Linked DNA regions of Homo sapiens: region 1 is linked to region 2. Evidence: promoter capture Hi-C in human tissues and cell types (Jung and others, 2019). All regions are on one chromosome and are shown on one strand. The core of a region is centred on a gene start or on the middle of the fragment in contact, and the rest is flanking DNA. Distances in the headings are between cores, read along the strand shown.

Region 1 (5,862 bases), core at 1,162-3,661, 65 kb before region 2:
ACAGTGTCTCAGTCAATGAGGAACTGCATTTATGATGGGGGTCCCTTAAGAGTATAATAGCTATACCACATGGCTTAGGTATGTTGTAGGCTATACCATCTCGGTTTGCATAAGTATATTCTATGATGCCCACAAAACAATCAAATTTCCTAACAGCACATTTCTTAAAATGTACCCCTGTTAGCCGGGCGCGGTGGCTCACACCTGTAATCCCAGCACTTTGGGAAGCTGAGGCAGGTAGATCACGAGGTCAGGAGATCGAGACCATCCTGGCCAACGTGGTGAAATCCCGTCTCTACTAAAAAAATACAAAAGTCAGCTGGGCGTGGTGATGCGCGCCTGTAGTCCCAGCTACTTGGGAGACTGAGGCAGGAGAATCACTTGAACCTGGGAGGCCGAGGTTGCAGTGAGCTGAGATCGCGCCACTGCACGCCAGTCTGGGTGACAGAGAGAGACTCTGTCTCAGAAAAAAAAATGTATCCGTGTTGTTAACTGATATATGACCATACCAAGCTAAGTGTTTTGAGGGTGGCAAAGAAATAAGAAATTGTTCCTATTGAAAAGGAACAGAGATTTCTTTTGTGGAACAGTGAACATAGATGGGATAGGGCAAGTCTGTCAGTAGCAAAAATGTTTTAATTCATACCAGAGGGGATAAGGGTACAAGAGACAACAGGGGTCAGAGGAAGAAGGGTGCAATATGGACTGCTTGTGGAACATGTGGAAAAGAAGTAGTTCTTGACTTGTGAAGGATTTCGGTAGGGAGAGAGAAACAGGAAATGCATGCCTGGCAGGGGGGCATCTCAAGGGTTATTGTGGATGCAGAATGAGTGTAGCATTTGGCATTTCAGCATGGCTCAATGGATGGGTTGGTTAGAGAGGCAAGCAGGCCCGGATTATCAAGGACCAGGAGTGCCAGGCCAAGTTTGTATCAACTCTGCGAATACTGGGAAACACTTAACATTTCTTAGCAACTAAGTGATTCATGAAGAAAGCCTGTTTTATAGAAACTTAGTCATCTGACCCACTGCTGTTAAGATTTTAGAAGGGAGAGCCCACAGAAAAAGATGACCACTTACGCTGTTTAATATTTCAGGTATGAAGGGTTAAGTATCTAGTCCTAGGCTAAGGTATCAACAGTGGGACCAGAGGTTCTATGTAATATGTATTGTCAATATGTGTTTATATATATATATATATAGTAATACGAATTGTCAATAAAATATTTGTAGAGTCTATAGTTTAGAATATACATGGGCAAGGGGAGAGGAATTGGAAAGGATGAGGGAAGAGATCTACTTTTTTCATTAAAAGTGAGGATTTGAGTCGCCTGACCTACATTTGAGGCAGTTTCAGGCAATCTGAAGCTCATATTTTTTTGTTTTGAGACAGTCTCACTCTGTCACCCAGCTGGAGTGCAGTGGCATGATCTCGGCTTACTGCAACCTCTGCCTCTCTGGTTCAAGCAGTTCTTCTGCCTCAGCCTCCCAAGTAGCTGAGATTACAGGCGCCCACCACCACACCCAGCTAATATTTTGTATTTTTAATAGAGATGGGGTTTCACCATTTTGGCCAGGCTGGTCTTGAACTCCTGACCTCAGGTGATCCACCCTCCTTGGCCTCCCAAAGTGTTGGGATTACAGGCGTTAGCCACCACGCCCAGCCTAAAGCTCATATTTCTATTGAGATATGAGGCTTAATAAATATAGCATATGGGTTGAGCATGGTGGCTTATGCCTGTAATCCTAGCACCTGGGAGGCTGAGGTGGGAGGATCCCTCGAACCCAGGAGGTCGAGATTGCAGTGAGCTGTGATTGTGCCACTGTGCTCCAACCTGGGTGACAGAGTGAGACTCTGTGTCAAAAAAAGCATATGCTTATAATAGGACATATACCAAGTCTGTTCTAAAATGCTTTACATATATTAATTCATTTAACCTTCCCAACAACTCTGGGAAGTAGGTGCTATTCTTTCTATTTTACAGTTAAAGAAACCGAAGTCACACAGCTAATAAAGGTAGAGCTGAGATTCAAACCGAGCTGCTACAGTACTCTCAACCATGCCACTAACCACCTTTCTGATTTACTGAATGATAACAGCAGTGACTCTGAATTCAGTACATCTTGCATTATAATTTTGACTTTTTCTCTTTTTTGTATACTCCTTCCACTGCAGACCCAGTTTTCAAAATATGCTACCTACAGTAAAAATCTAATGTAACGTATTTAGCTCATTTTTTCCCCCCACCAAGCTTCTGTTTTAAAGTAGTTTTTATTATCCTTTACAGAATTAAACTGAATATTCTCCTCAAATAAGTTCATCAGTGGCTTTGGGGGCTGTATGGGTGAGTTATTAGGCATTATACCCTTAAATATTTTAGCATAAAAGGATTGAAAAAAGTACCTATTAATGCACTACTCTAGCTTTTTTTTCCCTATTTTTTTCTGGTCTTTATAGCTCGGTTTCAAACTATTACAATCATGAAGTGACATTAATATTTTTTTTCTTTGCATGATTTTTGTGTTTGTCTTTTTTTGTTGTTGTTTTTGAGAGAGGGTCTCACTCTGTCACCCAGGTTGTAGTGCAATGGCACAATCTCAGCTCACTGCAACCTCCACCTCCCAAGCTCAAGTGATCCTCCCACCTCAGCCTCCCAAGTAGCTGGGACTACAGGCATGTGCCACCATGCCCAGCAGTTTTTTGTATTTCTTTGTAGAGATGGGGTTTTGCCATGTTGCCCAGGCTGGTATCCAACTCCTGAGCTCAAGCAACCTGCCCACCTCGGCCTCCCAAAGTGCTGGGATGACTAGCATGAGCCACAGTGCCAGCCTGTGTTTGTCTTCTAATACTAAAATTACAGTGTACATCAAATAGGAAAAGGTTAGGGATAGTTCAGCACTTCTTTTTTATTTGTTGAATAGTTGTTCTTTATTAACATTGTCCCTGACTTGCCTTTTCATCCAGAATTTTCCTCTGCTAGATATATTTTCATTCAAAATACCAAAGAGTAACCAACGTACCTAAATTTTTGTTCTTTTCCGTCAACACTTTAGGAAGCAGGTAACATAAATCGATCATTGAGCTGCCTGGGCCAAGTGATTACAGCACTTGTCGACGTGGGTAATGGAAAACAGAGACATGTTTGCTACAGAGACTCCAAACTTACCTTCTTACTACGGGTAAAGTAGATCCTTGGGTTCCTGGGCTCCTTTTGGTTATGCTAAAGTTGATAGTGGGACAGTCTCTCAGCCTTGGTGGCAAGAGTATACATTTTCTTTGCTTAAAAAGGTCTTGTGATTTCTCACCGAAAATATGTTCATTCCTATCATTAAACAGGATTCCCTTGGAGGTAATGCCAAAACAGCCATAATTGCAAATGTTCATCCTGGATCCAGGTGTTTTGGGGAAACCCTATCAACACTTAACTTTGCTCAAAGAGCCAAGCTGATTAAAAACAAGGTAAAATACTGGCGTATACTTCATTAAATAAATGAGAAAAATACTAAAGCTTACAGTATGCCATTTTTGTGATTGCCCTAATATTAACATTAACTTTTATTTATTTCTCATTGTATGCAAAATTTCTATTTTATCTTTCCTACCCTTCTATATCACACATGTAATTAGAGACCTAGGTTAGATCTTATGGTTGTTATTGCTTGACTAGTTTTTTCTTTTTTTTTGAGACACAGTCTTGCTGTGTCACCCAGGCTGGAGTGCAGTGGTGCAAACACAGCTCACTCTAGCCTCAACTTCCTGGGCTCAAGCGATCCTCCTGCCTCAGCCTCCTGTGTAGCTGGAACTACAGGCATGCAGCACCATGCCAGGCTAATTTTTTTATTTTTTTAATTTTTATTTTATTTATTTTTTATTTATTTATTTTTTTGAGACAGAGTCTTGCTCTGTCACCCAGGCTAGAGTGCAGTGGTGCGATCTCTGCTCAGCTGGGACTACAGGCGCCCACCACCACGCCCGGCTAATTTTTTGTATTTTTTAGTAGAGACGGGATTTCACCGTGTTAGCCAGGATGATCTCGATCTCCTGACCTCGTGATCCGTCTGCCTTGGCCTTAATTTTTTTATTTTTTGTACAGGTAGGATCTCACTTTGTTGCCCAGGCTCGTCTCAAACTCCTAGGTTCAAGCAGTCCTCCTGCCTCATCCTTTCAAAGTGCTGGGATTACAGGTGTGAACCACTGTACCCAGCTGACAAATTTTTTCTTAAGGGAAAGCAAATTAAGTATGTGAGTCTTTCTTCCTGCCAACAGCCAATCAATCAGTTCTGCAGCAGACATCAGCTGAGTGTCTTCTGATTCAGTTCCATCCTGACACTTTATGTCTGGAGATAGGGTGAGATCTCACAGGTTCAGGGCTCAGTCCTACAAGACTGCGCCCAACTTCTGATGCCAATTGCAAGCCCCAGCTTGTCCTATCTGTGCTTTCAGACCAACTGGCTGTAAATCAGGAGGTCCATGTTGCCCCTTTCCCTGGGTAAATCAGAAGACTATAGATCTAGTCATTTATTTTATTTCCTTGGACTATGGAGTACTAGTAAGATGAGGAGGAAAAATCATTAGAGCTTCCTGACCCTAAGTCTCTTAAGATTTACTAGAAGTCTTTGGAGATATAGAACTGCAGCAATAATTAGAATTATGAAGTCACTGATGGGACAGTGATGTCAGAAGTGCAGTAGTACCTTGTAATGAGGCTGGCCATAAGAATCAGAAGCAACTGGAAATGGCTGCTTAACACACAAAAGAACAAAACCAAGAGCCTTCTACTAGTCACTCTCAATGGTAAGCCCTTTGCAGCCTATCAGTGGAAAGTGCCAGAGTATCTGGGACTTGTTTAAGGATGTGCTATTTAAATTTTTCCGTGAGCAAATTGGGCTTACAGCGAGAATACAGAAGACCTTGGGGCTGTCACAGGGTGTTTTTTCCTTGCTGGAGTACTGAGTATTTCACAACTGAGTCCTCTGACCTGGTTGGTACTCAGCTGTTGGCACTCGTTATCACCCTTTAGGCTTTGTGGACCTTTTTAAAGCTTTATTTTTTTAATTAATCAACTTTTTTTTTTTTTTTGAGATAGAGTCTCGCTCTGTCAACAGGCTGGAGTGCAGTGGCGCACATGTGTGACCTGCCCCACTCTTGACATCCTGCCCCACAGTGGCACATTTTGTTTGTGAGTCCTTTAGCCTTTTAGAAGTTGTCCTAAATAAGACATTTCTTTAAGAAAATGAAGATAATCATTTAGTGTGGTAAAAAATTAAAAAAAAAAAAAAAAAGGAAGTGTCAAACCAACCCCTCCTTCCAAGAGGGCTGTTAAAAAATAAAGGTCGGATTCCTCTGGAGAAGGTTGCTTCTGCCAAGCTCAAGCCCACCCTGCAAGTCATCATGCACTTAGAGGCTAGGCTCCTTCCCCGTAGGGAGCTAGGAAAGAAGGGAAATGATACTCACTGAGGTATTGGCTCTTCTCCATTGGGAGGGTGGGGGAAGGCTGTCGTTCTCAGGGAAAGAAGTATTAGGTGAACACACCCGGATCCTAAGGGTGACCCAGCCTAAAAGCTCAGGGCTAGTCAGCTGGGGGGCAGAGAGCCTGGCTGGGGCTGTCTCTCTCTGGCTCCAGGTCTGAAGGCACAAGAAAAGGAAGCTTCCTCCCCACTTGAGCACACTGTGATTCCTGTGTCCTTTTGACTATGATGTGGTCTTGAAGTTTTGTTTGATGTTCATCACTACAAATCATACCAAACAAATGTAAACACAGGACTATACTACTCAAAAAGCATTATTTTAATGCTTTTTAAAAAATTCCTGAACAGGCAGTAGTAAATGAAGACACCCAAGGAAATGTGAGCCAGCTCCAAG
Region 2 (5,797 bases), core at 2,377-4,876:
TGTAAGACTTGTCCGGTTTTTGAATAGGTAAAATGGGAGAATTGTAAGGAGAGTTTATAGGTTTTAGAAGCCCATGCTGTAGCAGGCGAGTGATAACAGGCTTTAATCCCCTTAAAGCCTGTTGTGGGATGGGATACTGGCATTGAGCAGGGTAAGGGTGATTAGGTTTTAATGGGATAGTAATGCGCGTGTGATGGGTTGCCAGGGAGGGAGTGGAGGTGTCCCATACTTGTGGGTTAAGGTGGGGGGGATACGAGAGGAAGACACAAAGGAGGCTTTCGGTTGGGAAGAAGGGTGGCAATGAGATGTGGCTGTAGTCCAGGAATAATCAGGGAAGCAGATAATTTGGTTAAATATTTCAGCCTAATAAGGGAACTGGGCAAGTGGGGATAACTAAAAAGGAGTGCATTAAAGAACGTTGTCCAAGTTGGCACCAGAGTTGGGGAGTTTTAAGAGGTTTAGAAGCCTAGCCGTCAATACCCACAACAGTTATGGAGGCAAGGGAAACAGGCCCTTGAAAAGAAGATAATGTGGAGTTGGTAGCCTCTGTATTGATTAAGAAGGGGATGGACTTATCCTCCACTGTAAAAGTTACCCGAAGCTCGGTGTCCGTGACGGTCCAGGGGGCCTCCAAGGCGATCGGGCAGCATCAGTCTTCAGCTGCTAAGCTGAGAAGATATGGGAAGGAGTCAGTCAGAGAGCCCCGGGCCAGAGTTCCAGGGGCTCTGGGAGTGGCTGCAGGGCAAGCTGGACAGTCTGATTTCCAGTGGGGTCCCGCACAGTTGGGACACGGCTTAGGAGGAATCCCAGGGCTGTGGGCATTTCTTGGCCCAGTGGCCAGATTTATGGCACTTTAAGCAAGCTCCTGTGGGAGGCGGTCCTGGAGGAAAGCCTGGCCACTGCGGTTCAGACGTTTTGAAGTTCTTGTGTGCTGGAGATGTGGCTGGGGTTTCTCTCACAGTGGAGGCAACTAATTGCAACTCAGAAAAACATTGCTACTTGGCTGCCTTTACTCTATTATTGTACACCTTGAAGGCGAGGTTAATTAGGTCCTGTTGTGGGTTTTGAGGGCTGGAATCTAATTTTTGGAGCTGGCGGCTTGGGTGCGGTGGCTCATGTCCGTAATCCCAGCACTTTGGGAGGCCAAGGTGGGTGGATCACTTGGGCCCAGGGGTTCAAGACCAGCCTGGGCCACATGTCAAAATCCTGTCTATACAAAAAATACAAAAATTAGCCAGGCATGATGCACCCATAGTCCCTGCTACTCAGGAAGCTGAAGTGGGAGAATCACTTGAGCCCAGCAGGTTGAGGCTGCAGTGAGCTATGATCCACCACTGTACTCCAGCCTGGCAGACAGAGCAGGACCCTGTCTCAAAAAATACATATATATATAATCTGGGCTTGATGGTACCTGCCTGTAGTCTTAGTTACTCAGGAGGCTGAGCTGAGAGGATGGCTTCAGCCTGGGAGCTCAAGGCTGAAGTGAGCCATGATTACACCATTGCACTCTAGCCTGGGTGACAGAGAGACTCTGTCTCCCTCTAAAAACAAACAAAATTCAGTCTAGCTCTAGACCTAATGAGAATCTTCATCTTAGCAAGATCCCTAGGTGATGTGTGTACACAGGAGTTTCTTAGAGGCAGAAATCACTTCCCAGCAGTGTCTGAGGATGGCATCACTTCAGCCATCATCACCAGGGCTGGGGACCTGGAGATTAACAACGATGTAGTCCCTGCCCTCAAGGAGCTTGCAGGCTAGCAGAGAAACAGACAACCAGAGGAACAACCACAGGACTGGTACAAAGGTAGGGGAGTAGCAGAGACGGCTTTACAGAGGAGGTGGCTCTGAGATGCTTAACCTTTAGTGCTAGTAGAGGCATCGTTTGTTCTAAGAAAATTTGCTTTACATTCTTTAAAGCATGCAGAGTTGATCAATGCAACACCTCTTGATTTCCTGATAAGAGCTTTCAGAGGGTATCATCTTTGAGCAGCTCCTTACTCAATGGAGTGGTGCAGTGAGACCTCTGAGCCTCAATTTCCTCATCTGCAAAATGGGACAGTTTGTACCATATTGGCGTTACTGAAATTATCCGTGTTTTTTTTTGAGACAGAGCCTTACTCTGTCACCCAGGCTGGAGGGCAGTGGTGCAATTTCGGCTCACTGCAACCTCTGCCTCCTGGGTTCAAACAATTCTCTGCCTCAGCTTCCCAAGTAGCTGGGAATACAGGTGCCCGCCACCACACCCAGCTAATTTTTTTTGTATTTTTAGTAGAGATGGAGTTTCACCATCTTGACCAATCTGGTCTTGAACTCCTGACCTCGTAATCCACCCACCTTTGGCCTCCCAAAGTGCTGGGATTACAGGCGTGAGCCACCGTGCCTGGCCTTATCCGTGCTTTTATTTGAGCCACAAAACCACCCTGTGAGAGAAGCAGCATGGTGTGGAAGGACTTCCATAAAAACTTGCTAAACAGAAGATACAAAAAGAATGCTGCTAAACAGTATGTTCAACTGTGAAATCATTTTTGTTTAAAAAATGCATATACATATTCTATAATTTTTTTAACATTTTAACTATATATAACTAAATAGACATATAGAAAAATGCTCTATTAACACTGATTTTCCTGGAGAGTGGAAATAGCACTTTATACATTTCAACACTTTATTTTCAAGGACGTGTACTTTTTAAATGGGAACATTTTATTTTTATTTTTATTTTTTGAGACGGAGTTCACTCTTGTTGGCCAGGCTGGAGTGCAATGGCATGATCTCAGCTCACCACAACCTTCACCTCCCAGGTTCAAGCGCTTCTCCTGCCTCGGCCTCCCGAGTAGCTGGGATTACAGGCATGCACCACCACGCCCGGCTAATTTTGTATTTTTAGTAGAGACGGGGTTTCTCTATGTTGGTCAGGCTGGTCTCGAACTCCCGACCTCAGGTGATCCACCCGCCTCGGCCTCCCAAAGTGCTGGGATTACAGGCATGAGCCACCACGCCCAGCCGGAAACATTCTAAACATACGTAAGTATAACAGGAGATTAGAAGTCATGTTGATTCTGCGTGGCTTGATTATGGATCATTGTCTTCCTCTCATCGCAGATCCTCATTTTTTCGGTTTTCTGTGATGCGCTTGTCCCCATATGGGGCTCTGGCGTCTTTCTGGGTCTGGAGGTCCCCAGCGCCCTCTGCCGAGGCATCTCTTGGTCCGGCGGTCCTCAGGCTGGAGGGTGGAGCGGAGAAGCCTGGTCGACGTGGATGGACTCGGTGGGCCGGCGCGGGGCCCGTTAGGCATCTTTAATAAGTTTCACCGGGAGCCGGGTGGCCGGGATGGAGACGGCTAAGCCGCGAGAAGTTTACCTTCTACCACAGCGTCCACAGTACCCGGCTTGGCCTCAGGCCTCGGGTCCCGACGTCCTCCCCAGAGCACAAACCTACTACAGGTTAGGCCGGAGGCCGCCACAGCCCAGGGTCTCTGCCACCTGGCCCGCCCCCTCCGAGGCGCCGGAGAGCGATTCCCAAGGGGCCTGCCGGAGCGTGGCGTCACAGGAGCGTCGCGTCACGTGAGGCTGCCATCCAATCGCGGCGCGCGCTCTGCCCTGCGGGCAGCGGGTGCCAGGCACGGTGTCAGCAGGCAACATGGCCGAGAGGCCGGGGCCTCCGGGCGGCGCCGTGTCCGCGACCGCGTACCCTGACACCCCCGCGGAATTCCCTCCGCACCTCCAGGCGGGTGCGATGCGGCGCCGCTTTTGGGGCGTATTCAACTGTCTGTGCGCCGGCGCGTTCGGGGCCCTGGCCGCCGCCTCCGCCAAGCTGGCCTTCGGCAGCGAGGTCGAGCCCGGGGCGCTGTTGGTGCTGCTGCTGCGGGCGGGCGGGCGGGGCGCCGCTGGGCGGAGGAGGGGCGCTGCGGGGCCCGCGGGGCTCTTGGGGTGGGGCGGGGGTGGGCGCAGGGCGCCGCCGCACCCTCGCCGGTCTGTCCCGCCGGGGCCCCGGGCCGCGGGCGGCGCTGCGGTCAGCTGGGGTGGCAGAGAGTGTTTCGCCTCTAATCACGCCAAACCCTCGTCCAGTGTAGGTGGTAAGAGACGTCGGGGACTGAGGCCTCTTCCCTTACCAGGGACCTAAAACCTTTTCTCCGGTTGGGCTAGTTCGCTCTCGGGGAAGAACTACACCTCCTACATCCACCCTCTACCTCTCATTTTAAGTCCCTTGTGCCTGAGCATTTCTCTCCACGTGACTCTTAAGGTGAGAAGCCTCTTGCCCATCCCTTTACTCCGTAATTAACGGGTGTTGTGACCAGATGACCAGTCTGCCCCACTACCAGGAAAATTGGGAGTTTGGGATACTGTAGGCATAAGAGGATACTGACAGAGACGTTCTGGATGTTTTCCTGACGCTGAGAACTCCTAAACTTGCATCCTGGCGTCTGCTAAGGTGTATCTCTGCCTCTCCCTCCCACGTCGTAGACCAGCCTCTGCTTGCTATAGGGGTTTCATTGCGTCTGCAGCCCAAGGTTAGCCTCTGACCTGGACAGTGGTCACTGATTATTTAGGGTTAAGCCTATTTAGGGCTAATCCAGTAGTAGCTGCCATGCTTCAGGTTAGTATCCCATTGGGTGTAGTTCATGGGGTAAGTGGTCGAAAGTAAAATGAATAACTTTGTATGGGCCGTGAAGTTTGTTGTCAGGAACTAGACCTTCATAACCCTTTAAGCAGGTTGCCACTGGCCCATATGCTGCTTTGTGTAAGACAAGGTTGTCCAACTCGCGGCCCAACGCAAATTTGCAAATTTAAAACATGAATTTTTTTGCGATTTATTATTTTTTTTTTAGCTCATCATATATCATTAGTGTTAGTGTATTATATGTGTGACCCAAGACAGTTCTTCCAGTGTGGCCCAGGGAAGCCAAAAAATTGAACACCCTGGTGTAAGTTATAAGCAAGCACCTTTTTCTCAAGACACTATGTGTTCAGCTGCTGAGAAACCATTACAAGTAATAAGTATATTTAGATTCCGCACCCCCCCCCCCCGCCGCCTTGTCTCCAGGCAGGTTTCTAACTCACCACCAAGCAAGGGGGACTGCATATCCTTTGTGTAGGAGGCTTCTAAAGATCTTCTCTTCTCTTGAGACTTTCTCCTTTAAAAAAAAAGAAAGAAAATACCTGCAAGTTCTCCAAGGGATGTCTGGGATCACTAAATAGTCTGAGGTGGTGTTTCCCTCAGGCAAGGCTGTGCCCTAGTTAAGAGCATGGAGGTACACTGCCTGCTTGTGAAGCCTGGTGGCTCTCACCGCTGTAGCACTTTAGGAAGGTTACTTAATGCCCCTGGCTCTTTATCTGTAAAATGAAGTTAAGGAATAAATGAGAATGCTTAAACACAGCCCAGGACCTAACACAGAGTAAAAGCTCAAGAATACCCAGAGGGGGTCAGCCTTAGTGGGCTGTAACTTGTATAGGATTTGGGGGTGGGAATACAGAGCAGACATTGCTAATTCATGCTTTGCCTGATCTCAAGAAATAAGAACTCTACCCTAGGCTTACTACCTACGGAGTAAGAACTACTTGGCCCTCTGGGACTGATCTTCAAGCACTGGTCATTGTGGGACCAATAAGGGGCCGGTGTTCAGTAGAAAATACTGGCTTTGGATTAGCATTTTGCTTCTTCCCAAGATCATATGGCCAGCAAGGTGGCCAAATGAGTATCTTCTCTGAATTTGCTTTATTTGTAAGATGGGTCTGCTGCCCACTGAGGGTTAAGTGAAGCCCTGTGCAGGAAAGCTCTGAGGCCCTCTGAGCTGTAG

The links. The method cuts DNA at HindIII sites, captures the fragments that hold promoters and counts their contacts. A contact is called where the count stands out against the background at its distance.
Region 1: a fragment that was not itself captured here is called in contact with the fragment with the promoter of TMEM42 in region 2 in 3 of the 25 tissues and cell types used here (bladder, hippocampus and mesenchymal stem cells).

The regions. Positions count from the first base shown.
Region 1 is chr3:44,794,498-44,800,359 of GRCh38, forward strand. KIF15 (kinesin family member 15) reads left to right here. Exons shown (of 35, transcript NM_020242.3): 9 at 3,054-3,179; 10 at 3,337-3,459; 11 at 5,817-5,862. Among named protein-coding and RNA genes, the nearest start is that of KIF15, 36 kb to the left of the region's middle. The HindIII fragment of the contact is 3,726 bases long and covers 549-4,274 here.
Region 2 is chr3:44,858,286-44,864,082 of GRCh38, forward strand. It overlaps TMEM42 (transmembrane protein 42), which reads left to right and starts at 3,627. Exons shown (of 3, transcript NM_144638.3): 1 at 3,627-3,831. The coding sequence starts at 3,640. It overlaps MIR564 (microRNA 564), which reads left to right and starts at 3,603; the gene lies at 3,603-3,696. It also overlaps a transcript of KIF15 not described here. RefSeq lists an enhancer at 3,087-3,676 and silencers at 3,707-3,756, 4,087-4,136. The HindIII fragment of the contact is 28,079 bases long and covers 1-5,797 here.